4 separate regions of the Homo sapiens genome follow, and all the other regions are linked to region 3. Evidence: promoter capture Hi-C in 16 types of primary human blood cells and fetal thymus (Javierre and others, 2016). All regions are on one chromosome and are shown on one strand. The core of a region is centred on a gene start or on the middle of the fragment in contact, and the rest is flanking DNA. Distances in the headings are between cores, read along the strand shown. Region 1 overlaps LARGE1 (LARGE xylosyl- and glucuronyltransferase 1). Region 2 overlaps LARGE1 (LARGE xylosyl- and glucuronyltransferase 1). Region 3 holds the start of LARGE1 (LARGE xylosyl- and glucuronyltransferase 1). Region 4 overlaps LARGE1 (LARGE xylosyl- and glucuronyltransferase 1).

Region 1 (7,212 bases), core at 776-3,275, 610 kb after region 3:
CACGCGGACTGGTGCCTGTTGGATTGATTTTTAATTTAAGAAACCTTTCAGATATATTTGTAAACCTTCGAGTCAGAAGTAGGCCCTACGTGAATGCCACAACGAATTAGGAGAGCCGGCCTTCGCACTCCCGTACGCAGCTCCCTCTGGAATTCCGTTCAGAAAGAATGAACGTTGCAACCATGGCCATGAAGCCAGGAGTTCTGCTTCTCCTTCAGCAGCTCAGCACCCTTCCCTCCCATCCCAGCAGAAGACACCAATGGCAAAGGGACAGAGGGAGCTGATCACGAGGGGTTCACCTATCTTCTGACACCACACCAGGGAGAGCCTGGTTCTTTAGTGTGTTTTTGACAAAGATGTTAAGTGTTGACTACAGTTGCGGGGCCTCATGGGGATGACAGGTCACTTCTCTGCTCTCTCTGAGTAAAGGAGAGAGAATGGGCTGGGCTCACAGAGCCCTACTCTCTAGAACAGCGTTGCTTCAAGCCTGCTCCTGGAACCAGCAACACAGCATTGCATGGGAGCTTGTCAGAAATACAGATTCTCAGGCCCCACCCCAGACCTCCTGAACCAGAATCTCGGGTGGTGCCTGGAAATAGGGGTCTTAAGAAGCCCCGCAGGTGATCTTTAAGAAGCTTACATTTGAAAGCACTGACCGTTCTGGAGAGTGAAAGGTAATTTTTTCTCCATGTAACAGGCAGAGCGATGTTTTAAAAATGTAAATCAGGTCACATCATTAAAACCCTCAGATGACTTCTTGTTACATGTGGAACAGTGTCCCACCCGCCTGCTGTGGTCTTCAAGGCCCATCCAGCCTGGCATCTGTGCAACCCCTGACACCTTCATCTCACCCCTGCCCCTCACCGTCCTGTGCTGCACCCACACTGGTCCTGTTTCTTCCTGCTCGAACATGCTGAGCCCATTGTTACCCCAAGGGCCATCCCCTCTTCTTGGAGAGCTTTCCCCCCAGACTTTTCACAACGCCAGATCCTTCTCATTATCTGCTGTAACAAAATGCCACAAATTATTTGATATATGAACAATGGAAATGTATTTATCACAGTGCTGGAGGCTGGAAGTCCAAGATCAAGGCTTCGGTCGATTTGGTGTCTGGCGAGGGGGCACTTCCTGGCTCACAGAGAGTGCCTCATTACTGTGTCCTCACGTGGTGGAAGGAGCCAGCTAGCTCCCTGGGCCTCTTAAAAGGGCATGAAGGCTAGGTGTGGTGGCTCATACCTGTAATCCCAGTACTTTGGGAGGCCAAGGCAGTCAAATCACCTGAGGTCAGGAGCTCCAGACCAGCCTGGCCAACATGGCGAAATCCCATCTCTACTAAAAATAGAAAACTTAGCCAGCTGTGGTGGTGCACACCTGTAATCCCAGCTACTCAGAAGGCTGAGACAGGAAAATCGCTTGAACCTGGGAGGTGGAGGTTGCAGTGAGCTGAGATCGCACCACTGCACTCCAGCCTGGGCAACAGAGTGAGACTCAGTCTCAAAAAAAAAAAAAAGGCACGAATCTCATTCAAGAGAGTTCCACCCTCATGACCTAATCACCCCCCAATCAAACCTCTGGTTTGTCGATTGTCTTTTTTCCCCACTAGAATAAAAGCTCCTGAAATGCAGGCGCCTAGGCCCCTTGCCTGTATAGTATACCAGATGCATTGGAAATAACAAATATTTATTAGGTGAAGACATGTTTGAGAGGCAGAAATAGAACCTAAGGAGGAAATTACAGCTGTCATATACTGAGTACCTGCTGTATATCTAGCTTTGCACCAGACACTTTGTATCATCATCTCATTTAACCCTCAAATCCAAGTAAATGTTACTGTTTCACAAACTGCCCTGAGTCTTAGCAGCTTAGTACAAGAACTGGAATGAGCTTGTGATTCTTTGGATTGGCAGTGTGGGCTAGACTCTGCTGGGCTCATTCCTGTGTCTGCCGTAAACTAGGTAGCTTTTCGGGGGTTTGTCTGGCTATCAGCAGGGACCATGGGAACGCCAGGGCAAGGTGGTGTAGGGCTAGTTCACATGGCGGCAGGTACAAGCCGGTTGTCTCACCTCTTCTCATGTCATGTTTGCTAATATCGCATGGACCAAAGCAAGTCATGTGGCCAGGATTCATGTGGGAGATTATTTCCAGAGGGTATGGATAGAGGCAAAGGGACGATTGATAGCTATTTTGTAATCTACCAAAGGCATTATTATCCCCAAAATACATATGTGCAAATTGAAGCTCAAAGAGCTGTCACTTGCCCAGGAATACTGACATAGCTCAGAGGACAAATCCAGGCCTGTCTGACCCCAAAACCTACAGTTGCAAGCTGTGTGATATGCTACACAGCCTGCCTCATGGGCAGTGCACCAGATTAGAATGGTCCGCCTTGGTGGGTGTGAGTTCCCCATCCCAGCAGACACTGAGTGATCACTGCCTGGGCTGCTTAGTCCCACTGAGACTCTAGAATTCCTTCCAGCCCTGGTCTTCTGGGTTTCTGACCTGGCCGTCTCCCTACCTGTTCCTTTATGACTACAGAGACTGCGTGAGGCTTCCAGCTTTAATGGGACTCTCTGGAATAGCCCCCACCTGTTTTTAGATCTGCCAGACATTTCTGAGCCTTTGCCCACCCCTCCCTAGATGAAGCAGTGGTGGGCTCGATGGGGTAGTGGGAACCAACATGGGACAGAGACAGGCCTTCTGGGTTTAGGGTCAGCTCTTCCATGGACTCATCCAGCAAAAGAAAGCCTGGCCACAGAGCTTGGCATCAGCAAGAACTGCACGGGGACGACCCTTAGGGAACACATGAGGGGAGAGAACCTAGGAGGTAGAGGTTGCAGTGAGCCGAGATCGCACCACTGCCTCCAGCCTGGGCAACAGAGTGAGACTCTGTCTCAAAAAAAAAAAAGAAAAGAAAAAGGGCACCAATCTCATTCATGAGAGTTCCACCTTCATGACCTGATCACCTCCCTAATCAAACTCTGGTTTGTTGATTGTCTTTTTTCCCCACTAGAATAAAAGCTCCTGAAATGCCGGTGCCCAGGCCCCTTATCTGTATAGTATATCCGATGCATTGGAAATAACAAATATGTATTAGGTGAAGACATGTTTGAGAGGCAGAAATAGAACCTGAGGAGAGGGCCGAGGGGATTGTGGAACTTTGAGACAGATACCAAGAGGGACTGAGGAGGGGAAAGAGTGGGGAGGCATTGACACCGGGAGAAGAACACGCTCTTACTTGGGGAAACAGACAATGAAGCAAAGATATTTGGGAACATTGTTCTCAGCCTAACCCCAATCCATAGTAAATAATGACCTGGATCCGGGCTTTGGGGTGAGGTAGACCCGAATGTGAATCTATGTCCTTCACTTTGTAACTGCGTGACTTGAAAGAAGTTATTTCACCCCCTTAAGCTTCCTTGCCTGTAAGAGGGTGGTGACAATCTCAATATTATAGTTACTATGAGGATTAAATATGATAGCCACAGTGTGGCAAAGACATGACAAGCAGCAGGTAAAGGGGGAGATGGATGAGATCATGATCACACTTTAAATATTACCATCATTATTAGAAACCTCAGTTTGTCACAGTTGTTCAGGTCCTGGCAGAAAAGTTGGTTCTAAGGGACTAAAGATTGGAGAGATTGGGGCTGGAGGGCATAGAAACAGCAGTGCGTTGTGTCACCATTCTGTCTCGCTTGTGGAGGTTCCACAGAACAACATCCAGCTGTGTTATCTGTAAAGCTCAACTTATTTTTCATGTGCACAGCACCTTCTGAGAACCTTGAGTATTTTTTCTCTATTCTTTTTTTTTTTTTTTTTGAGACAGATTCTCACTCTGGAGTGCAATGGTGCGATCTCAGCTCACTGCAACCTCCACCCCCTGGGTTCAAGCGATTCTTCTGTGTCAGCCTCACAAGTAGCTGGGACTACAGGCGTTCACTACCACGCCTGGCTAATATTTTTGTATTTTTAGTAGAGATGGGGTTTCACCATGTCAGTCAGGCTGGTCTTGAATTCCTGACCTCGATGATCTGCCCGCCTTGGCCTCCCAAAGTGCTGGGATTACAGGCATGAGCCACCGCTCCTGGCCTCTCTGTTCTTACCCTAAACTCTTGGCTGAGCTTAGGAGAGGGACTGTGGCAGGTCACGGGGCAGGGGAGGGGTTCCTTTCTTGGAAAACTGAGACACAGAGGCAAAAACCAAGCCAGTGAGAGAATCCTGAGAAGTGGTCCTCTCTTCATGCCCAGCCAAACCTCCCTCCTTCCGCCCACTTCCTTCAGCAGGTCTCATGTCTACATGCTAGAAATTATTCTTGCGTTTTGCTCTCCAATTCTCAGAGGAGTTGTACAAATGGCCCTCTCATGAAGCGCAGAGTCCCCCACATTTGCAGAAGGTAAAACAGGTGCAGGAGGCATAATTCAAAATTCCAGATCAGAGCCCAGGAGAGGGCAGGCCCCCACAGCAGAAGTCTAGTACAAAGTTCAGTGCAATTAGGCGTCATGGAGAATGCATGCCTTTTTAAGAAATGGCTCTGGTCGGCCAGGCGCGGTGGCTCACGCCTGTAAGCCCAGCACTTTGGGAGGCCGAGGTGGGCGGATCACGAGGTCAGGAGATCGAGACCATGCTGGCTAAGATGGTGAAACCCCGTCTGTACTAAAAAATACAAAGAAGAAAATTAGCCGGGCGTGGTAGCGGGCGGCTGTAATCCCAGCTACTCGGGAGGCTGAGGCAGGAGAATGGCGTGAACCCGGGAGGCGGAGCTTGCAGTGAGCTGAGATCACGCCACTGCACCATCCTGGGCAACAGAGCAAGACTCCGCCTCAAAAAAAAAAAAAAGAAAAAGAAAAAGAAATGTTTCTGGTCAATTTGGTTAGCAAGCATTATAATGGATGAGAAATGGAGAGCATTTTGCACTGGTGAATATCTTAATCCTCCCTATTGAACGAGGAAGCAAATCTGGGCAGTGCCACTTAACAGAATTACTGAGAGAAAACTCTGGAAGTCATCAAAAAGGCCATTGAAACAAGATAGGTGTGCCCATTTCCTTTTGTTTAGAAGCATGGAAATGCATGGAATCGATTTCCTGGTAATCGTCCGAATAAAGTGGGCATTCTGACCAGGAGACTGCTGATTACGTACCTCTTGCTGGGTAAGGAAAAACAATTCAAGTAGGCTTTTGCTGTTTCTTAGCCATAGATTTTATGTACCAGACGCTTCTAACGCCTTTGAAAGAAAATATCTTTATAGATTTATCTTCAGACGTCTTTGCAGAACCCTCTCTGTTGCAAACCCTCCACACACACCTTTTTTTTTTTTTTTTTTAATTTTTTCCCTGGGCTCTATTTTTCCCCCTCTCCCTGGCTCAGCATCTCTGAGGTAGCCTTGCACAGTTGCCTGGCGCCCTGGGGTAGTAGGGGCTCTGAAGACGAGTGATGCAGACAGCATCACCCCAGGTAGACTTTTGTTTCCAACATTCACATATTTTTCTATTCCCTTTTTTAGTGTTATTTTTTTCTCCCTGACTCCAAGGTCCCATCAGGGTACCTGTCTACACATGTCTGGCCTCTAAGTGTAAGAGGCCAAGCTGATTGAACATACGGCACGTCCGTTCCTCCATCAGGAAAATGGGGAGAATGACAGCTAGTGCTCAAGGTTATTGAGAGAATTCTGGGAAGCTCCTGGCACACTGCAGCACATCTGTAATTATAGTTGTTGTAGCTCTTGTGTTTACTGTTTATTTTACCGTTCCTTGTAACTTAGCAGCCTCTAAGTTTGTGTAAGTCCTCTCTGGCTGGTCACTGCCTTAGGAGATCAGCAGAGCTTTTTTATACCTTTGTGGAGAGAGAAGTGTAGGACTTTGGGGCTGGAAGGGGATCTTCAAATCATTTAATATACTCACCACCTGGCTTTGAAACGAGGAGTCCAAGGCTTATAGTGGGATACAACTTCATATCACATGTTCAGTTGGAAGCAGGGAAAGATGAGAACCAGCAAGGTAAGTGTTTTGATGCCTGTTTTATAGGTAAAGGAACTGAGTGAGTCAACGTTGAAAGCAGGGATTTGATCCACAGCTGGTTGATCAAGTGTCACTGGAGGCAGAGCCCCACAACAGGCCCGGCGGATGATGCATGGATGGCCCAGGTCCCGCGGCTCACCCTCCCTGTCTCTTCCAGGCTCCAGATGCTGGAGGCCATCTGCAAGCACTGGGAGGGGCCCATCAGCCTGGCCCTCTACCTGTCAGACGCCGAGGCCCAGCAGTTCCTCCGCTACGCACAGGGCTCTGAGGTGCTTATGAGCCGCCACAACGTGGGCTACCACATCGTGTACAAGGAGGGCCAGTTCTACCCCGTGAACCTGCTGCGCAACGTGGCCATGAAGCACATCAGCACTCCCTACATGTTCCTGTCTGACATTGACTTCCTGCCCATGTATGGGCTCTATGAGTACCTCAGGTAAGGACCTGCAGGGGCCTGGCCATCAGGCCAGAAGGCACATAGGGCCATGCAGTGCCAGGACCAAAAGGCCCTTAGGGTCATCATCTAGTCCAACAGGTTTCTTTTCCAGATGGGGCAGCAGAGACCCAGAAAGGGGAAGGGACCTGCCCACAGCCACCCAGCAATAGAGTTCTCAGTGAACAGACTGAAACCTGAGTTTGCAGAAGGAAATGTTGATGGCAGAGCTTGGTCCAGCGAACATCTCTTTTTGTCTGCCAGTCTATTGCTTTTTCTGTAGCATCTATGAAAACATACCCTCCTCAGGCAGGCACGCGATGGCTCTCGCCTGTAATCCTAGCACTTTGGGAGGCTGAGGCAGGTGGATCACGAGGTCAGGAGTTCGAGACCATCCTGGCCAACATGGTGAAACCCCCCCCCTACTAAAAATACCAAAAAAATTAGCTGGGCTTGGTGGCATGTGCCCGTAATCCCAGCTACTTGGGAAGCTGAGGCAGGAGAATCTCTTGAACCAGGGAGTCGGAGGTTGCAGTGAGCCGAGATTGCTCCACTGCACTCCAGCCTGGTGACAGAGCAAGACTCCTTCTCAAAAAATAATAATAATAAATAGAAGAAAACATACCCTCCTTCTTCTGGTTTTGGACCAGACAACCTTCATATAACCCAAGAAAGATTATTGCCCAGTCTTTTAAACAAATCTAAGTGATGATGATGCCTAGTGCTTATGGAAGTGTTTGCTGCGCGCCAGGCACTGTTCTGA
Region 2 (7,666 bases), core at 87-2,586, 590 kb after region 3:
GGAGTTGAGAGTCAAATGAAGTCAGTGTGAGAACTATAAAAATGGCTGCACAGGCCAGGTGCGGTGGCTCACGCCGGTAATCCCAGCACTTTGGGAGGCCGAGGCGGGCAGATCACCTGAGGTCAGGAGTTCAAGACCAGCCTGGCTAACATGGCGAAACCCCGTCTCTACTAAAAGTACAAAAAGTAGCTGGGCATGGTGGCACATGTCTGTAATCCCAGGTACTCGGGAGGCTGAGACAGGAGAATCGCTTGAACCTGGGAGGCAGAGGATGCAGTGAGCCGAAATCATGCCATTGCACTCCAGCCTGGGCAACAAGAGCAAGACTCCGTCAAAAAAAAAAAAAAAAGATAAGAAGAGAAAGAGAGAGAGAAAGAAAGAAAAGAAAGAGCTGCACAAGTTAATTTTTGCATTATTTTAACTTTTTCACTGGGAAATTGATAATGACAACAAGAGTATGAGCTCTCTGGTAATCTGAATCGCTCATTTAATAGACACATGACCTCAGAGAAGTCACCTAAATGCTCTGAGCCTTGGGTTTACCATCTGAGAAATGGGTACATGACACCATTGCCATGGGGTTTTATGAACAATTGAAGGCCAAAAAAGAAGGACTTGGCACCAGGAACACAGTGTGCCTTGGGATGAGTTTCTTCACAGACCCCAATGCCTGACCCATGTGATCATAATCCACTGTTCCACACATAGGCTTTAGGTTTTATTAGCAACTCTGGTAAAAAGACGTAGCAGAGAAGGGAACCTGTAGAGTCTCTGAGAAATCTGTCTGTAAAGCATGTGAGAGGGTGTCACATTTGCTCTAAGTCAAACAATCCCCAGTATCCCCACTGATTCGGAAATTCAGGGTAGGAAGAAGAGGCTATTTGGTTTGCCTTGCTGCCAAAATAAAAATAAGGACATCCAGTCAGGGATGTAATTCTTCATCAAGGAGCCAAGATGTGAGGGGCAGAGCGCCATTTCAGAGCCACTGGTTGGGCTGCTTGCTCTAGGACAAGACAGTTTGATTTGCAAGAGAACAGGCTCCCCCAGTGCTATGGAATGACAGTAGCTAATTGGTCACAGCCACTTGTCTCTCATAGTTTGGGCATCTCTCCCTGGAACTTGTAAATTCTTTATGTAGTGCAGTAAGCATTTGGTATGCATTGGTTATTATGAGTTGATTGATTGACATAGGGATGGAGGTTAGAATTCTATACCTTAGCATTTCTCTCCCTTTTCCTCAACAACCCAGCCCCTCAAGAATATCCAAGAAATGGCAGGGTGCGGTAGCTCATGCCTATAATCCTTGCACTTTTGGAGGCAGAGGCACAAGGATTGTTTGAGCCCAGAAGTTTAAGGTTGAAGTGAGCTATGATCGATCCGCTATACTCCAGCCTGTGTGATGGAGTAAAACCCAGTCCCTAAAATTAAATTAAATTAAATTAAATTTATAAAAGAATATCCAAGAAACCCCAGGACTCTTCCAGAACATAGTTGGATAATCAGAGCTATTCTCTACCGTTTTTTCTATTCAGAATCCTTCCACAGTATCCCTAATAGGCTTGCATCTGGCTTCTGCTGAAATTCTCCCAAAGACAGAGAGCCACCTTCCAAGGCAGCTTACTCTGCTATTGGAAAGCTCCAGATGCTAAATTGTTCTACCTCATGTTGGGCTGAAATATTCCCTTCTGTAAAGAACCCACTGATCTGAGCCCTGTCCTCTGGAGTCTAGGTTTTGTTGGGTTTTTTTTTGTTGTTCTGTTTTTTTAATGAAACATAAGGAAATAAGGATCCTTCCACCTCCCTAGTACCTGACAGCCCAGAAGATAGCATAGAAAGTTTCCATTCAGTTTGCTATTTAGAAACATGCAATGCTCCCTAAGTATTGTATTTGTAGGGTGATGCTTTATCATCAAGAGGGTCTTGCTCCACCTAAGGGAATTTCCAACTAAAGGAACCTCATCTTTTTAAATGCAAAAACCATTAAAATAGATGGGTTTTAACCAATTTGGACAGGAAACTTGCTGCTAAAGTGTATGCCGTTCCTTTAGTAAGCAAACACTAAACTCAGTTTAGTATTAAACTAAGTTTACAATATTTGATGACTGTGGTTACATTGAAAAGGCTGGAGGAGGTGGAGGGGGTTGTCCAGAGGAGGAAAGATACTGTTTAACCTGGCAGGAAATGGCCCCAGACTGTTCACTGCTTATTCTGTGGATTCCTTTCTGACAGCTGTCACTTTCTGCTTATCAGCTTCAGAACAACCCTTTCTGGGCTCGCCTCCTTGTTCCTTCTTTCCAAGGCAGCCAACGCCCCCTTCCCCCCACAAAAAAAAAACCCACAAAGGTATTTAATTTAGAAAGACTGATGGTAAAAGAATGATCTGTTGTTATGTTAAAAGCTAGATTATGAAACATACCAAACATCCACAAACTACAAAAAAAAAATACACTGGACACCAATGAATTTTTGAATGTATATGGAATTGTAAGTCAACAGCCAGTGTCTCCAACCCCTGCCCACAGCAGACATCACTAATTGATGACTGCATTATTCACCTATGCCCAGCTTCTTTATCCTCCTCAAAACAGCACTCTGAGTAATCAGTATTGGTCTCCTAGCCTCCTAGTGATAGCAGGGAACCAAAGCCTGCTGGGTATCCCTACGATAGGTATTAGTCATTCTGGTCTCTCCTGCATGAGCACAGCTCTTTGTGCTGTTCTAAGACCTTTCTCTGCTTGCCTCTAGCTTTTGGGAATTGGAAATTTTCTACAGGGAAAGAAAGAGAAAGGGAAATACAACTTTAATCTTCACCACAAAGAGTGGGAGTCATTATGAGTCACATTTCACAGATAAGGAAAGGAAGGCTTCAAAGAAATGATTTACTTGTTCAAGACCACACAACTCCTAAGTGCTGGGGCCGTGATTAGAAACCAGGTCTACCTAACTCTAAAGCCACAAGACAAGGAAGTGCTTCCCAAATGGATGTAGCTATGTATGTCATATTAATGTAATAGTAAGTTACATTATTACATATATCCAGGTTATTCCACAATTCTCCTAGTTGTTATATGGATACGGTTTTCTTACTCTTTCACTAACCCTTCAAGGTAGTTCCTGTTATCTCCTTTTTTATTATTTATTTGTTTTATTTTATTATTATTATTATTATTATTATTATTTTGAGAGAGAGTCTCGCTCTGTCACCCAGGCTAGAGTGCAGTGGCACAATGTCGGCTCACTGCAACCTCCGCCTCCCGGGTTCAAGCAATTCTCTGCCTCAGCCTCTCGAGTAGCTGGGATTACAGGCACCTGCCACCATGCCAGGCTAATTTTTGTATTTTTAATAGAGCTGGGGTTTCACCATCTTGGTCAGGCTGGTCTTGAACTCCTGACCTCGTGATCCACCCACCTCAGCCTCCCAAAGTGCTGGGATTACAGGCGCGAGCCACTGCTGTTATCTCCATTTTATACAGAAGGAAATAGAAGCTCAGAGAGGTGAATTCATAGAACACGTTGGTGGCAGGGCTGAAGCCGGTATCAAGCCCTGATTCATAGTTGAGTGGTCTCTCTACGACTATTTAAAATACTCCTCTATCTAAAATTGCAATGCCTGTCCCATACCCCAGCACTCCCTCTCTCCAGGGCTCCTTCATTTTTCTCCATAGTACTTATCACTAATATAATCATGACTTATTTATTTTTGTTGATCATGTCTCTACCCACTAGAATGTAAGCTCTGTGACTACGGGGCTTTTTATCTGTTTTATTCATCAGTACATCTTCATTAAAGAGTGCCTGGCACCAGATCCATGCTCAATAAATCTTGTTGAACAAATGAACTATAACAAGTCCTTTTCTTGAAGCATTTGTGGTGTGCCAGAAGCATCCCTCCACTTGGACTCAGAAAATTTGGCCCAAGCTGGGAATAGTGGCTCATACCTGTAATCCCAGCACTTTGAGAGGCTGAGGCAGGAAGATCACTTGAGCCCCAGGAGTTCTAGACCAACCCAGGCACCATAGTGAGACCTCGTCTCTGTGAAAAATAAGCAAACCACACATGCCTGTGGTCCTAGCTACTCAGGAGGTTGTGGTGGGAGGATCACTTGAGCCTGGGAGGTCGAGGCTGCAGTGAATCGAGACGGCACCACCACACTCTAGCCTGAGCGACAGAGCAAGACCCCGTGGCCCTAGACCAGATCTATGATTTTAGGCATAACTCTAGCCTTACATGAACCTCGGTTTTCCCATCTGTAAAATGGTCAGTAAATGCACCCACACCAGGCTATTTGAGGAAAGTTAAAGGGGTTAAAGTATTCAAAGTGCTGCACCATCTAGGCAGTTATTGTTACGAGTATTTTCCAGAAAGCTTGTCTTGGATACCCGCTCTCTCAACTGCTGGGAGATCACTGCCTCACCTCTGAAATGAAGAAGGCTTCCAAGCTTAACTCTCTCACGCTATGAAGGTGACAGGCCACTTCCAAGGCCACGTTCCCTGACACTAAGCCTGCTAAGAGGAAAAAACAACAGCATCACCTCAACTAGAAGTTAAAAATAAGACACATATAAACAGATTCTATAACATTGTATGGCATCACCCTGCAAGACAATGCCAAGAAACAGATGGCTCTGTGGAAACAGCTGTATCTCAGAAGAATCCCGGAGAAAGCCCAGAATGCATTCCTGCTCTCACGTGCGAGCCGCATGTCGCCAACTCTTCAGTCACGCAGCAGGCAGCAGAGCCCAGGATGGACAGACCCAAAACCCTAAGACAGGCTAGGCTGCTCAAGGCCAGTCTCCAAAGGACCCTCCAGGAATGTGTTAAGCTCCAGAGAGAGGGGGTGAAGGGAAGAGGAGCTGTGGGATCAAGAGACTCAGTGGATACAAGTCTGGGCCACGGTTTCCCCTTGTGGCCTGGCTGCTTTGATCCTGTTCAGCTGCAACTTACACAGAGCCCTGTTTGACCCCTCTAGGCACTGGTTGTCATCTCTCTGCACTTGCCAGGTGTTCGGCCCTCCCTTGTCTATAAAGCAGCTCCCTCCCTTCCTCTCCTTTCCACCATATCTCCCTTTCTCAAGTGGCATCTCTTACTTGTGCAGTAGATAAGAAGGCAGCTCTGGAATGAGGCTGCCTCATGTGAAATCCCAGCTGGACTGCCAGCTGTGGGATTCCTGGTGATCTGCTTAAACTCCCTGCACCTCAGTTTTCTCATCTGTACGATGGAAATTAGTTATTCCTATCTGATAGACTTAAGAGGAATCAATAAAGTAAGACAGGGCCAGGAGCTTAGAACAATGTGGCAGATGGCAAAGGCCCCCCAGAATTAAGGTTTGTGTTGTGATTGCACTGTGTTTGTAATTAGTGACTGGCTTCATTGCCTCTCCTCCTAGACCATAGGAATAATACAAGTGCAGAAGCAGGAGCTCATTCCCCATTCCTAGCACAAGACTTGGCATAAAATAAGAGCCTATGAATTGTATGTGATGCGTGAATTAATACTGATAACTGGGAGGGAGGAGACCAAGCCTTTTTCTTATCTCCTCCAAGTCGAGGTCAGGGCTGGGCAGACCCTCTCTGAACCTTCACTCAACAGTCCTGAATGCAGCCCCCTACCTCCCTGCAAAAGAATGAAAATGGACTCATAGTTTGGTTTCCTTAGTAAAAAAATGCTTTGGGTTCCTGGAACTTGTTGATTAATACACACAGCAGGCAACGAGGAAGGTCGTGAGCTTTTTCTGCCTGTCTGTGTGGCTTAATAAGATGTAACTGCTTTGTGGAAACCACAGGGACAAGCTCTGGGTTAGGTTTCAGGAGACCAGAGTTGGAGCCCCAGCTTCTCTGAGCACCTTGGGCCCTCATCTGTCAACTGAGGGCCCTAAGGGCAGCCTTGCCTGTCTCATGCAAGCGCTGGGGAGGAGTAAAAATGAAATAGTGGATACGAAGCCACCAAAAAGTGAAAGCAAGTTGAAAGTGCAAAGCAACATGCTTGAGTGGTAATTTCCCCATCAGTGATTTCACCCATTGCCCCAAGACATCAGAAGGAGGGGTGTCACAGGAAGGAAGAAACGGGGCCTCCCAGACTCCTTAATTGGTCCATCGTACTATGTCTCCATCACTTACAGGCTACAAGCATTCAAATGTGCCTGTTAGTCAAGGTAGCACAAGCAGCTGTAATGTGGCTCAACCTGCTGGAACCTTGCAGAAAGTCCACATGGGTGTTCATGATTGGCAGGTAGTTTTTCTGCAGGTTGAAGGACCCAGGCTCCTTTTGTCTTGTGGCTCTGCCCTCCACAGAACCCCAGCCTGCTCTACAGGATTCTCTTGCTCTGGCTGTCAGCCAAGAAAAGAAGGCGAATAAAATTTGTTCCTGAGCAAGGCTTCAGAGTGGTGCCTGTACTAGCCAGAGCCTTTCCAGACTCCAGTGGCCAGAGCTGTATCACAGAGTTATTCTTAACTGCAAGGAGGCTGGAGATACAGCCTAGCTCTGTGCCCAGGAAGAGAGCAAAATATGGATATTGGTGAGCACAGGATGTTTCTGCCACCATGTGAAATACATGTGTTGAGTCCTCTGCAGTCACAGAATCGTTTACTGTTAGAACTAGAAAGAAGCCCAGAGGCTGACCAACTAGGCATTGTAGTGAGTTGGTTACCTGCAAGAATTCAGAGGAAATACACCTGGGTTTGAATCTCAGCTACTCTGTTCGCGCATTGTATAACCTTAAGCAATGGCTAAACCTTTCAGATGATGGATGTCTTCTTCTACTAAAGAGGACTAAGAGTGGTTCTTGATCTGTAGAGTTGATGTGAGTCTTACATGAGAAAGAACCTGCAAAAGCTCTCCCCACTTTACCTGACCCAGTGAGTGCGTGATCCTTGAGCGTCACTTTAGGAAGTCCAAACCCTTTGTCTTACTAATTCAGAGACATGACTTGCTCAAGGTCGCATAGAAAATGAGTGTCAGAGATATCAGGTCTCGCTTTTCAGTTATCCCCATAATCTCACTCCTTAGTTTGCGCAACTGTGAACAGAAGTCTCTAAGGCCAGAGCACAGGATGCACTTGTACTCCCTCTGGATCCTCAGGTATAACCAGCCATCATTTCCAGCAGCTCAAAAAGTCAGTCTAGGCCACTGTCCTTAAAGATGAGGAGAAATAAATGCAAACTGCCTAACGGGCCATTTTCCCTTGGGTCCAAATTTCCCTCTGCCTCAGCTGGCTGCCCAAAGAAGCAGTTTAGCAAATGCATTTTATCTCAGGAGAAATCTGTCTTTTGTTTCTGTGCCTCCCTTGTCAGGAGCCCTCTGTTCCCTGTGGCAGTGGCCAGAGAGCAGAGTACAGTAGCATTCAGACCCTGTTAATGAAATACTCCCTCCGGCTCCATGGCTCCCCAGAGAAATTACCCAAACCCTGGGTGAAAAGGAGGCAGGTTTTGTTTTTGGCTTTTTTGTTGTTTGTTTTGGGGGGGGGGTTGTTTGTTTTTGGCTTTTTGTTTTTGTTTTTTTGGCTTTTTTTTTTTTTTTTTTTTTTTTTTTTTTGAGATGGAGTCTTGGTCTGTTGCCCAGACTGGAGTGCAATGACATGATCTCAGCTTACTGCAACCTCCACCTCCTGGGTTCAAGCTGTTCTGCCTTAGCCTCCCGAGTAGATGGGGTTACAGGCACCCACCACCA
Region 3 (6,554 bases), core at 2,130-4,629:
TTAAGACCTCAGGTTTCTTAGGATTCGGTCTCCTTGACCCTAATAAAAAATAAGAGACCTTTCCGAATCTCTTCAGTGACAGGTACAATAACTGTGTGGAGATAAACAGATAACAGTTGGTTTAGATAGCTCATTTTTTTTTTTCATTTTTCAGTTCTCAGCAAAAGCTGCGCTCATTCTTTACAAATAACAGATATATCACTTTACATATTTTATTCTGCATTCTCATACTATATCGTAGCGGAAATCCTTTTAAGACATTTGTATCTTGGTTGTGTCAAAAGGCTATAATTCCTGGTAACTACATCCTACTTCAGGGTTTCCATGTATATGTATATACATATTTAGTTGCTTGGACTGGGGAGTTGAGGAGCTTTACAATTTTCCAACGTAATACTTTAAACCTGGGGCTTGATGTACTAACCAGAGGACTCAGTATGTGGCACATTTCAGTCTGACAACATTAATATCATTTAGAGCATTAGCTATGCCACTGACTGCAGGCACTTGCAACCTTGATTTGATAAAACAAAGCTTTTCCACATTTAAGGTGCTTATTGACCAATGCAAGTACACTTTGTGAAATCCACTAATAAGGCATTATGTCTTCAACGTGCCTTACTGACCAGCGTGAACATTGCTAGCTCCCACACCATGGTCACATTTTTCTTTCTTAGATTCCATCTAGAGAATGTACTACACTTGAGTCATTATAATGGAGATGTTTCTTTCCCGGAAGCTTATCTTTTAGTTTCTGATGTTATTCAACTATTTCTCCTTCGCTTGTAAATTTCAGGTCTTTTCCTTTCCTCAGTCACGTTACCTTTATTAATATGCTAATGTGCTGTAATAATGCATTTTACACCACTAATGAAGTGAAGCAAAGCAAAACGTAAAAAGAAAGTACAAATTCTCCCTTTAACTTTACCCGGTTCCGGGGAGGGGGTAGGGGTGAGAGAGGAGGAAGAGAGTAGGAAGGAAGGACATTCGGGCGGCAAAAAAATAAAAATGATCCCCTTGTTTTCAGCGCGTTCTGGAACAGAGCTGCACGTCAGAGGAAGAACTGAGCAGCCTTCGAGCTAAAAGACTTGGCATTAAACTTTGACACTTTAATGGTCTCTAGGATATTAGATAGTATTTTTTCATATAATGTTCTTCTCCGACACGGTAATGGCATCAGAAACAGAATCTGCTATGCCTGCCAACGTGCACGGTGAGGCTCATCGCCGCAGAGGTAAGACAGCAGGACCCCAGCTTCGCAGTTAACTTATCCCGAAGCTCCAAAGCAAACGTCTTTTACTTCTTCGCCGGGGACGCTGCTGTACCACCGCTGCCTCCCTTTCGCATTCTGCTGGGCTCGGTCAGCCGCTGAGATTAGGTAAACAGCGCTCCGGAGCCGGGGCAAAGCGGGCGCTGCTGCTGCTGGTGGGGGTCGTTGTTTCACGAGGCTGGAGGGAAGGGGGATGGGAGAAGGGTCCCAGCTCGGTAAAGCCAAAGGCCGAGAGTGTGGTTACCGAGGCGGGAGCCAGGTCCGGAGCCAAGCAGGGGCCAAGCCTCCGAAGCCCTTGCCGCCCCACCCCCCCAGCCCGACCTCGAGGAGTGGGGTCAGCTGGGCAACCCAAGCTCGGCGGCCCTTTCCCGCGCGCCCCCTCCCCAGCCCATCCTTCCCCTGCCCCTTCCAAGAACTAGGGTGGGCTTCCCGCTGCCTCGCTCGAGTCCTGGAGAGCGGAGAGGCGCGCAGAGGGAAGGCAAAGACCCGGCGGCCCGCCCGGCTGGGGAGAGGTGGAGACCCGGGGGGAAGGGGACCCCAGAAGCCCTGGGACCGAGCTGCGGAAAAACCCGGGAGCTGGATCGCGCGCCCGGAGCTCCGGTCTCCGAGTCCGAGTTGTGCAGCTCTCGGCGTCCTCTTTCTCTCCCTGCCTCTCTGCTTTCGCCTCCTCTGGGTCTTCTCTCGAGGGCATCCTCCTTCCATCCATTCTCACACCCCCGCTCCTGTGCCCCGACCCATTTCACCCACTTCTCCTGTGGCTCGGGAGGACTCTCCGTACCCCCACCCTGGTCCCTAGAACTGGGAGGCTGGAAGTCCATTCAAGGGATGTTGCGCGCCGGGTTCTTATGCCAAGAGGGAAAGAGCGAGAATAAAATCAGCAGGGGAGGGGCGTGTTGTGCGTGCATGGGGTGTGTGTTTGGGGTGGAGGAAAAAGAAATGTAGTTTCCTCAGAGGAAGAGGAAGCCTTGGACAGGATTCTTGGATACCGATCCCAGAAAGATGCCGTCAGAGCCCTTCGGCGGGGCTCCTCACAGACTCCGGCTGCCCCACAGCATGCCCACCTCCGAGAGAAGCTGCGACCCGAGGCGGGGAAACTTCCTACTTCTCACGACGGCTGTTTTGTGCAATTTGGGGAGCAGGCTGCATGGTCCTGCAAGCCTGCGAGCCTCTCTACCACGGCAGCTGCGGGCCCGTCCCGCTTCCCTTCCCCCTTTTTCCGCGAGGCACGCCAAGCCCGAGGCGGCCGGGAGCCGCCGGGGTTGGGGGAAGAAGGGCGGGGAGCTCCCAGCTTGCACCCTTTCATCCCGACCCGGCCCGGGATCCCGGCTCCGGGTGTTGCTTCCGCCTGCCTGCCAGCCAGCGAGCTGAAGAAGCACCGGGGCGGAGTCTCGCCGGGGGGCGGAGCCTGTGCGGGGGCGAACTCTCGGTCCGCGCGGCTGCGGCGCTTGCCATTGGCCGGCCGCTCGGTCACGGGGTCGGGGGCGGGCGCCGACGCGGGCGCCGGCCCCGCCCCCGCTCGGAACCCAGCCCCGGCTCGCGGTCCCCCCCGGCTGCACAGACATGACACAGACACACAGTCACTGCAGCTGCTGAGCGAGTCCGGCGCTCTGGGCACGCGGAGGCGGCGGGGCCAGCCCGGAGCCCGGACCCCAGCGCCCGCCCCTGCCGGTTCCCGCGCGGCGGCCCACTCCTGGCCGGGCGCGGGAGGCGGGGATCGCGCGCCGGCTCCGGCCAGCGGCGCCCGGCTGCCCGCGGCGGCTGCAGCGGCCGCCCAGCTCCGAGCGCCGGGCGCTCCGGGAAGCCGGCGCATCTCGGAGGCGGCGGCGGCGGCCAAGGCCGGCGAGCGCTCCCGGCGGCGGGGGCCGCCCGCCTCGGCTCCCCGCACCCACCGCGCCGCGATCCACTCGCCGCGCCTCCGCTCCCGTGACCTTCCCGGGGCGCCTCCCCTAGCCCCGCGCCCCCGGCCCCGCGCCCCAGGCCGGGGCGAGGCCTTTTCCGGCGCTTCTTTCCCGCGGAGCCGCGGGCGGGCGGCGCAGGCCCTGGGGGAGAGCGCGCCGCGGCCGGTTGCAGCCCCCCCCGCGCCGCCGCGTTCGGCGCCCGGCCCGGCCAGTCTGCTCCTGCCCCGCCGCCGCGCCGGAGCCCGGGCGCCCGAAGCTGGGGGCGCGGCCGCGCTCGTCTCGCCGGGCTGTTCGCGGGCAGGCCCTGCCCTGAAGGGACGAATCGGCTTGGAGCGCGGGAGGTGGAGTCGGCCCCGGCGGTCGCTCCCTGGACCCAACCCGAGGCTGACCCAGGCCCCTGCCCATGCGGGGCGCCCCTGGCTCGGAAGAGTCCCCCGGGCCGGGAGCAGCTCCAGGCAGCGGCCCCGGAGGAAGAGGAAGAAGGGACAGTGCTCAGCTTGGGGGACCCGGACCCTCGCCGCGGCATTTGGAGCCGGGGGCAGTCCCGAACTCTGTGCTTGGCACCGCCGCTCCGAGTAGGGCAGCGCCTGCCGGGACCCTGACCCGGACCCCCTGCGCCTCGTAGGCGGCGGCGCCGCCGCGCCACCCTGTTCTTCCGTGTCTCCCTCTGCCTGGCGGCAGTCACGGCCAAGGTAAGAGCCCCGGAGCGCGAGAGTCGCCGCGGGGGCGCCGTGGTGTGTAGCGCCGGACAAGTTCTCCGAACCTGTGGCTGGTACCCCCTGTACTCGGGATGCCGGCGGGGAGGCCGGGCACACCCTCTGCTGCCCCGGCCGGGAGCCCTGGAGAGGCTGGAGGTGGAAGCCCCCAGTCTCCGAAGTCCCCAGGACCCCCTCAGGGCCTGCTCGGCTTCTGGGCACACAGGCTGCTGGCAGGGAGCGAGCCAGGAGGAGTTTCTGGTTAACACCACGAGGGCATGTGACCGATACCCGCACCCCCGGCCCTCTTGTTAGCGGTGAGCACCTGTGGTTCGCGGAGCCTGCCGTGTTTGGAGAGGGCCCTGTTGGGCGGTACGCAACTACCTTTCGTGGTGTGATGCTGTGAATAACTTTTCTTGTTCCTTCTTGCAGACAGTCCTGCGCAATTTGGGGGCGAGCAGCCACAGCTTGCGAGTCCCTCTTTAGGACAGAGTGGTTGGTTGGCATTGCTATCTGTAGGGGGGAAGCCCAGCCAGCATGTCCTTCCTGTTAGTCAAAGCTGCTTGTGAGGAGTGATCAGTGTATAGCTATCCAGACATTCTTGTAAATGTCACTGCTTTTGAAGTTTTGGAGTGAGGACTCCAAAGTTTGTGTATCCTCAAGTTATTTTGTTCATTGCCTTATCCTCTTTTAAATGTTCCTCTTAAGGAACCTCAGTTGTACAAGCCTGTCCTTGCCTGTTTGAAATTTATTAAACCTGTGAGCTTCCCCCAGAACAATCTGATTTTAAATGGGTCACTTCGGAGGGAACAGATTGTCTCTTGCACACTGAATCCATCCCTTGGGTGACCCTGTTTAATGGGGTTGGACTCTTTTTTTTTTTTTTTTTCGTCTCTGTGCTGATGTGCCTCGGTTGAGCAGGTTTCTGCTGAATTCAGAATCCGTGAATTTTGTCACTCAGTCCATTAAAATGATCTCCTGAGGGAGCAAAATAGCAGCTTACATTTTTCGTGAATGTCACTGGAAGTTTTACAGGGTCTTATGTAAGTGCCCAGAGAGAGAGAGAGAGGAGGGAGTGGGGGGAGATCAGGCTCCTGCTTCCTTCAAGGGGAGAAACGGAGGGGGTGGCAGGTGGGGGCGTCCGCCTCCCTGACATGCAGATGCCTTTCTTCTCTGACACAGGTGTGGAGACCTGAAGTGCTTATCATTCCGTGGAGGCAGTCACCTCGGGTTAATTTTTCTTCTCACTTCTCCTGTCTTCCCACCTCAGGAGTCAGCTTTGATAGACTTAAGATAAGGAAAGCTTCTAAATTAAGAAGGGAACAAGTGGTGGTTGTTTCTTCTCCCATCCCTCACAAATGGGTGACATGAATGAATTACTCACTGGCACGCTTGGTCCTCCCTAGGGGTAAAAATAAAAGAAATAAAAACGCCAGCTTTAAGATTTCACACATCTCTTAGTGTACCTTTATTGTTCAAGAGTACTTTAGTGAAAATTGCTTGTGGAGAACACATTTATCGAGCCTGTCCCTGTTAATTCCATACCAGGAAGAAAACTCACTCGAACAGAGAGGCAAAAATCACCAAGATTTAGAGGTTAGTGGGTTTTCAAGAGTGGCGAGGAAAGGAATCAAATCCCCCTGGCAGGAGAGAGAGGTTTTTAACGGGAAGATCGGATTGCTCTGGAGTGAGCAGTAGCTGCTGACAAGTGTGGGCCCTCCTGCTTCACTTAATGAAGTGTGCTGGGGTGTGGATTAACTTTTTGATGTGAGCCAATGCAGATTCCTTTGGCTTTTAAACCATACCTGGAAGGGCCTTAGAAATGAAATGAAAGGTTTTTTTCATCTCATCATAGGTCTCGGAAGTGCTTCCATCTCTTGGGAAGGTTGTGACGAAGGTTTCCTTTGTTTCTGGGTTCCTGAGCTGCGCTTTAAAGTTGATGCACAGTGCAGGGAGGGTGCGTCCTGTAGTGTCGCCATCCTTCAGCCACCTACAGTAGCAGGACACTAGGGGGGACTAGTTATCTTTTCCACCATCGAAGAAGAAAACACCAGGGCCCATGTTACTGTGGTTTATCTTGAGGGTTCATGAGCCTGTGGTTTATGTTGAGGGTTCGTGAGACTGTGGTTTATCTTGAGGGTTCCTGAGATGAACTTTTTGGGATCTAGTACATGCTTGCACTAGTGAGTGGATTCTGAGTGCCTAAGGGATGGGCCTGCTCACATCTAAATTGTCATTTGGACAACTCAGAACCAGTTAACTGCAAAATGTTATGTGACATTCTGAAAAGACTCAGTTATAATCTCTAAGTATTTAAGGACTACAAAAAGGCTCTATCCTTTGAATATTAGACCATCCTAACTTTAAGTTCCCTAACAGTTTGTAATCAACACTTTTGGTGTTTGGTTTTTGACTGCATATTCCCTGCAGTCATCATAAAATCACATGGCTTCAAAATGTCTCTGCAGTGGACTCCATCAAACTTAAAATTCCCCTTAAAAATACATTCCGTATACTTAGAGATGTTAACATAACATTTGACGGTGTAGTTGCACTTCCACCTCAGACGCTGTCTGCACTTTTAATAGTATGAAATCATTAATGTCCACAGCCCTTCCAGCAGAATTGGAAGATAATTCTACTTCCCTGAAGAACACTGACTGCCCCATTGCCTAGGTTTACCCAAGTAGC
Region 4 (7,156 bases), core at 3,778-6,277, 630 kb after region 3:
CCATTGCACTCCAGCCTGGGCAACAAGAGAGAAACTCCATCTCAAAAAAAAAAAAAAAAGAAAAGAAAAAAGAAAAAGGATAACTGGCTCATCTTAGGCTTATCCATAGGTGTTCTATGCTTAGCCTGTTTATTGATCCAGTTGCCCGATAGGCCCATTTTATCTTCATCGTGATGGCCATGACCATCATCATGGCTTGTATTTGCCAAATGTATCCTATACACCAGGGAACTATTTTAATCTTTGCACCAGATAATCCATGTAGTTCTTACAAAGTCACACAGCACAGCTGCTAATACAGTCCCCAGCTCACAGAGAAGAAAACTGTGGCACAAAGTTGTAACGTGTTCAAGAGTATGAGCTGGTGAGTGTCCATGCAAGTGGGATCTGAATCCAGGCAGTCTGCCGCACAGCTGCCCTCCTTAGTGCCAGGCCCCCGTGATCCCCAGCCAGCGTTTAACTCTATGCCAGTACGTGGCAAGTGCTCTACAACGTTTAGCTATTATTACTAACAGTAAACATCAGGACAGTGGGGTAATTAAACAGGAATGTTGAGCATTACCTGAGATGGTGGAGACAGAGTCTCTAGCACAGAGCCTCGCACATGGTCAAGTGCTCAGTAAACTATGGCAATCATTACTACTTTTTATTTGTAAAATTTACCCCAAAAGCTCCTTCTTAGCTTCTCTTTCTCACCTGCCCCTCTCTGACTGACAGGTTCTTCCTCTGGAAATGTTAATGCCACCCATTAAGGAATCACCGGATCTTGCTCATGCCTGTGAGCCCATCTGGCTCTCAGATGACATGCCCATGTCTGACCTCATGTATTATGTGTGTATTCTACAGTGGCACTCTGTGGGCTGCCCTGTCTCCCTCATTTGCAAGTCCTTGCTGTTGTCCCCACAAAGCTCCTGGAAGCCAGTCAGCCAAGAGCTCATTTCCTAGACAACTGGAGTAGAATCGAGCAAACCCTATTCCCTGGCCTTTATGTTTAGGGATGAGACAAGAGGAGGACAGGGCTGTGCTGAGGTGGCCTCCAGAGTGAGCAGCACAGGTGGCTCCTTCCTTCCTCTCTGCCCACGTATTGTCACCCTAAGGTAGATTGCTAAATCCTCAGGTGTCATTCACATGATTTCCCATTGCCTTGGTCAAAAGCCATGCTTACGTCTAGCACTATTGAAGCTAGTCAGTTTAAACAGCTATGAGGGACAGCTGGAGACAAGAGGGCTTCTCGTAGTCTCCCAAAGTCACATAGGCACCCACACGCATGTACACACACATGTGTGCCCTTCTTTGCCTCTCACTGGTTGATCACACCTGTGTCTGCACTGGCCCTGCTGCTTCTCATCACACATCACTAGCTCACTGGTTCATGCCCACACACCTTGCCAGGAATAAGCTAAAATAAGAAAATGATGGTGCATCTCAGACCCAGGCCTCTGCTTTCTCTTTAACCCCCACTGGCTGATCCACTTCTTACGAGCATCCACGAGAATATGAGTGCATGACCGTCTGTAAAGGACCCAGGAAGGAAAAAACACTGTTTATAAGTGCCCTGTCTCGTGGCAGGTGCTGTGCTAGGCCCTGGGCAAATGTTATCTTTTTTAGGACAACCTAGTCAAAGATAAGTGCTTTTATTCCCATTATACAAGTGAGATTAAAACACAGAAGTTAAGTTTGCCCAAAGGTCATATGTATTTAAGTGGCAGAGCTATCGTGTCAACTCAGGTCTTTGTCATTTCCAAAGAGGCCTCTTCACAGTCCCATCCTCTCTACCGCATAGGGCAGTTACAAATAGATTCCTCCATTCCCTATACACTTACTGAGTGCCTACCGTTTGCCTGGCACTGTGCAGGACCTGGAAACGTAACCATGAACAGAGGCTCACCCCAGACCTCAAGCCCAGCAGGGCTGAGAGGTACATGCACAGGCAGCCACCACCAGTGAGCGAAACAGTCTAGGATGAACCAGTCCCAAAGAAGATGCAGACCCAACATGAAGGGGAGCATGAAAGGAGACACATCAAGGCCCATGGAGGTGGGGAAGGGAGGTACGGGGAGGCCGGTTTTTCTAACTGGCTATGCACTAAATCTTGAGAGAAATCAGTGCTGTTCCAGGGTTTCTGAAACAGATGCACACTCCAGCACAGGTTTCTTTATCTCCTCCTGTCCCCTTTTAATATAACTTTCATAGGAGTCCCTGGGAACTTGTATGAGAACCACATGGATTTCTTACGACTCAGGTTTGATTAAACAGTGGGCTCTCTGACATTTGATGCTGCAGAACAGGGCTGTGGAAACCCAGGGCTCCGAGAGCTGACAAGTCTGGTTCTCTCCCAGCATTCTGACAGCAGCCCCAGTGCCTTCAGCCCTGCGATTCCCAATAGTTTGTCACTTGTCAGCATTGGCCTCAGCCATTTATTGCAACACCGCAAAGAAGTCAGCACGGGCATTTCTGTTACAGGCGTGGAAACCTGAGTGGCAGAGATGGGGAATTCCCCAACCCCTGCCCGAGGAGTAGGGGCCACAAGAGGTCCCAAATGGTTACCAGCATCCAGTGGGCTGAAAGTCAGTCATCCTGGTGAGAAAAGAGAGAGTAGAAAGATGCCTTCAGAATTATGGGATGGGCTTCTTGAAATAAGGCTAGTAGGAGTGGTCATTAGTGCTAAATGCAGAGATAATTCAAACAAGGTGAGAATGGATAAATCTGTTAGACTTGACAGTGAGGGGACATTGCTGACTTTGGCCAGATCCACAGAGTCAAAGACAGATTATAATAGTTTGAGAGACTCATGGGTGGTAATGAAAGGAAATAGCCAGTATAGGAGGCTCAGTATAAGCCAGTGACATGTAGGATCAGTACACATGTTCCCAATCTCATAATACTCTTTGTTTTCTGACCTCCGCTCCACTTTGCTCATTCAAGGTGGAATCTGCCATGTGGATGAGATTGCATTTAAGGAGCATAGGTACACAGATCGTAGCCTCCTGCCTTCTCCCTTTTTGCCATTCCTAACCACTCTCCCACTACTGCCTTGACCCATGAACTCAAAGAAGTTCATTTTTCCAGTTGCAAGGTTGGGAAGACAGACACAATCACTGCATTAACAGACTTGGTCCCAATACATCTTGTGGTTATTGATCTTTCCTGCTTAATTTTAAGCTGGTGCAGACTTCATTAATATCATTATATGATGATGATGATAACTACTAGCTGTGTGGTAGTTACTTGTTAACCTCTCAGAACTTTAATATCTTTATCATTAAACTGAAAATATGAGTATGTAAGTCATAGGTTGCAATAATTAAGAGAAGTAATGCATATAAAGCACTTAGCATGGGGCTTGAAACTCAATGCATGTAAGCATTTATTATAATTTATCAACCACCTACAGTATACCAGGCAGGTGCTGAGAAATTCAGTTTCTCCAATCCTATATGCTTTCTCGTTATCAGAGCTTTGCAAATAACCTGGAACACCCTTTCCTGACTGGCTAACTCCTGCTTCTTGATTGGAACACATCTCAGTGATGAGAAGTCTTCCATGACTCTGCACACAGAGAGGAGTATGCTTCTGTCTTCCTCCCTCCCTACACTGTGAGCTATGCATGGACAAAGTTATATGTGTTCATTTAGCTCTGTGCCCAAGGTTTAGGTGTTGGCTTCATTAATATTCATTAATTGATGAATATATTATCTTAGTTCTCTTAATCACCAAGTCCATAAAGCATTTATTATTATCAAGATAAGGAAACAAAAGCCCGGGGTGTTAAGAAAATGGCCCATGATTGCACAGTTAGGGAAGTAGTGGAATTAAGATGGAATCTACATCATCCGATTAAAAAGATCATGCTCTTTTTTTCTCACTGTTCAGCCTCCCTTCAAACTGGCATGCCACGAGAGGTACCCAGCCATCAGGTGTGCTGAAGATAATTTCAGTTGGCTCCTCTTGAAATATCAGACTCTGTGGCTCCAATCCCATATGTCAGGCACACAGCTGGAATTGAGGAGCAGCTAGGCGTGGACTCTCCTGTTTATCCCATCCCCTGCTCTCCCCTCTCCCTTTTGTCTCCTCGACATGTAAGCCTGGCATCCTTTGCCATTGAACATCGTGCTCTCTCCCCATCAGCCTGCACCATTATCCACATCACTGGCCTGGCCCTGCAGCTGCTTGAGGTTGCCCCCCAAACCCCCCAGTATAGAAAGACACAAAAAAGAGATACTTCCAGAATCCTTTGTCCCTGTTTAAATTTGACTGTGCTCTCTCCTTTTCTTAACCTCAGTGATGGATTATTTTTCTAATTTTGTTTTCTTGAAGATGGCATCAAATTGGGTTTGTAATATGTCCTAGTTCGTTTTGTGGTGCTATAACAGAATACTGGAGACTGGGTAATTTTTTAGAAATGTATTCCCCATGGTTCTAGAGGCTTGGAAGTCAGAACAAACTTGGTGGCAGATTCGTTGTCTGGGAGGGCTGCTCTCTGCTGCCAAGATGGTTCTTTGTGGGTTTTGTTTGTTTGTGTTTGTTTTTGTTTTGAGACAGAGTCTCACTCTGTCACCCAGACTGGAGTACAGTGGCACGATCTCGGCTCATTGCAACCTCCGCCTCCCTGGTTCAAGCGATTCTCCTGCATCAGCCTCCTGCGTAGCTGAGATTATAGGTGTGTGCCACCATGCCTGGCTAATTTTTTGTATTTTTAATAGAGACGGGGTTTCACTATGTTGGCCAAGCTGGTGTCTAACCCCTGACCTTAGGTTATCCCCCAACCTCGGCCTCCCAAAGTGCTGGGATTATAGGTGTGAGCCACCACGCCCGGCCCCAAGATGGTTCTTTGAACACTGCATCCTGCAGAGGGGAGGAACGCCATGTTCTCACGTGGAAGAAGGTGGAAAGGCAAAAAAAATGGGACCAAACTCTCTCTTGTCAAGCTTTTTTTTTTTTAATCATTATGTATTAAATGTATTGATGTAATACATTATGTATGTATTGATGTAATACATTATGTATTAAATGTATTAATGTAATGAATACATTATGCATTAATGTATTCATGAGGGTGGGGCCCTCATGACCTAAACACCTCCCATAAGGCCCCACCTCTGCTGCTGCATTGGGAATTAAGCTTCCAACACATGAATGTTGGGGGACACCATAGCACAATACCTAAGCACGCACCAGTGAGAGAGGAGGAAGTTATTTCAGGGAATGCTGAATAGAGGAGAATGCATAAGGGTAGACAGACAGGATTTAGGGAGTTCTTCCTTTGGTGGAAACTGGCAAGTAACTGGAATCCCATTTTCAGGCAAATCGTGACCATTGTGGGACTCCAGGATGGGTCTGATTGGACCACAAGGGTCTCTTCTCCCGGGTCTTCACTCACTGTGAAGGAGTTAGGTGTTGGTCGTAGAGTTTTCCTTATATCCTCTCCTGTGGACCAACATAGGTTAATTTTTCTAGACACTTAAGATGAAACTAAATTGGCCAGCGTTGTGACATGGATCCTTTTCCTGATTAGCAATCCAGCCTTGCACTGTGTTGACTTATTTTTGCAGAACCAGAGGTGAGGAAGGGAACTTCTTTTTTTTTTTTTGAGATGGAGTCTCGCTCTGTTGCCCAGGCTGGAGTGCAGTGGTGCAATCTCAGCTCACTGCACCCTCTGCCTCCCAGGTTCAAACGATTCTCCTGCCTCAGCCTCCTCAGTAGCTGGGATTATAGACACGCACCACCACACCCAGCTAATTTTTGTATTTTTAGTAGAGACAGGGTTTCACCATGTTGGTCAGGCTGGTCTCGAACTCCTGACCTCAGGTGATCCACCCGCCTCAGCCTCCCAAAGTGCTGGGATTACAGGCGTGAGCCACCGCGCCTAGCTGGGAAGGGAACTTCTAAATGGCCATGGCCCTCACACCCACCTACTTGACTGGTGCCCTAGATGCTAGCAGTCAGGGAAGATGCCACCAGCGACCTCCATGTTGCCAAACCCAGCTGCCAGCCCCCAGCTCTCATCTCATTTGACTTCTCAGCCACCTCCAACTGCCGGTGACTCCTCCATGGCACACGTTTTATTTTCTCCTGGCTTTTAGGTGCTCATCGCAGTCTCTTTGTGGTTCTTCAATCTTCTTGGTCCCTCCCAGGAGTTCCCATTGCTGGCTCCTCTTCTCGTTCTACCTGACTCCCATTTTATAGATATTCCATGTTACAGATACGGAAATTGCAGAACCAAGAGATTAATTAAGTAGTTAGCCAGGATGCAGACCCGAGCAGCCTGCCTCTAGAATGTGAACCACTGTGACTCCGAGGAGGTGAAGTTGTCAGAACTAGGCAGTGCACGGCGTTTCCTTATGTCTTCCGAGACACTTTCCCGTAATCTCTTCATGCCAGGAACCTGGGCTGTTTCCCTGGTTACAGGGACCTGCCTCTAGAGGAAAGGATGGAGTTAAAAAGAGAGAATGAGATGGAGGGAGGGAGGTGTGTATGTATGTGAAAGAGATCAACAGCCAGGGTCAGGTTGAGGATTGGTAATTCCATGCCACCGTAGCACCAGGGAAACCCATCCAGCTAATACTCTGCCCTTCCATCCATGCTGTTTCTTTGGTTTATGCAGAACCCGGGCAAGCCTACCATCTGCACCCACCCCTACCCCTTCATTTGGCATAGGAAGCCTCACTGCTCACTCACACTCACATCCCCTCCCCTGCTCGCCAGTTTTGCCAGATTGGAGCAAAAGAGGATACGAACTACCCATATACCTGAGTGAGCTGAGAGGAGGGGCTCGGGGAAAAAAGATATACAGAAGAGGAGGCTGTGGGGGGCTTTGGAGGATAACCTTTATCAAATTCACAGTTTCCCCACTGGTTAGCTCTGCCACGCTGGAAAAGGTGAATTTACTCTGTGAGCAACACCTGAATTGTTTTTGTTACAAAGAGGGACTCAGAGGGCTGGCTAGAGACCGAGATCTCATAAGTTCTGTTTCTGTAGATGAGCAAGCAGAAGTCTTCCCTGGTTGTAAGTAGTATGTTGACTTCTCTGAATCCTCCTTCACTCTCGCCCATTCTCTTGCCTTGGATGCACCAGTAGGCTCAGCTGTGACAGGGGAAGGGGACTTGTTTGTTAATGAGTTAATTCTAAGTCAGGCACTGCTTTGGGCTCTAGAGCC

What was found. The method cuts DNA at HindIII sites, captures the fragments that hold promoters and counts their contacts. A CHiCAGO score of 5 or more calls a contact.
Region 1: a contact is called between a fragment that was not itself captured here and the fragment with the promoter of LARGE1 in region 3, in 2 of 17 cell types (naive B cells and total B cells). The highest score is 12.8, in naive B cells.
Region 2: a fragment that was not itself captured here is called in contact with the fragment with the promoter of LARGE1 in region 3 in 1 of 17 cell types (naive B cells); the score reaches 5.4 in naive B cells.
Region 4: a contact is called between a fragment that was not itself captured here and the fragment with the promoter of LARGE1 in region 3, in 2 of 17 cell types (total B cells and naive B cells). The highest score is 7.0, in total B cells.

The regions. Positions count from the first base shown.
Region 1 is chr22:33,303,469-33,310,680 of GRCh38, reverse strand. It overlaps LARGE1 (LARGE xylosyl- and glucuronyltransferase 1), which reads left to right. Exons shown (of 15, transcript NM_133642.5): 12 at 6,174-6,452. Among named protein-coding and RNA genes, the nearest start is that of MIR4764, 130 kb to the left of the region's middle. The HindIII fragment of the contact is 2,776 bases long and covers 638-3,413 here.
Region 2 is chr22:33,324,094-33,331,759 of GRCh38, reverse strand. All of the region lies in intron 10 of LARGE1 (LARGE xylosyl- and glucuronyltransferase 1), which reads left to right. Among named protein-coding and RNA genes, the nearest start is that of MIR4764, 110 kb to the left of the region's middle. RefSeq lists an enhancer at 6,245-6,294. The HindIII fragment of the contact is 6,065 bases long and covers 1-4,368 here.
Region 3 is chr22:33,917,301-33,923,854 of GRCh38, reverse strand. LARGE1 (LARGE xylosyl- and glucuronyltransferase 1) reads left to right here and starts at 3,379. Exons shown (of 15, transcript NM_133642.5): 1 at 3,379-3,860. LARGE1-AS1 (LARGE1 antisense RNA 1) reads right to left here and starts at 2,630. Exons shown (of 2, transcript XR_001755630.2): 1 at 2,332-2,630; 2 at 800-1,448. RefSeq lists silencers at 2,512-3,011, 3,332-3,481, 3,752-3,851. The HindIII fragment of the contact is 4,427 bases long and covers 742-5,168 here.
Region 4 is chr22:33,289,473-33,296,628 of GRCh38, reverse strand. The region is part of intron 12 of LARGE1 (LARGE xylosyl- and glucuronyltransferase 1); the gene reads left to right. Among named protein-coding and RNA genes, the nearest start is that of LARGE1-AS2, 130 kb to the right of the region's middle. The HindIII fragment of the contact is 194 bases long and covers 4,931-5,124 here.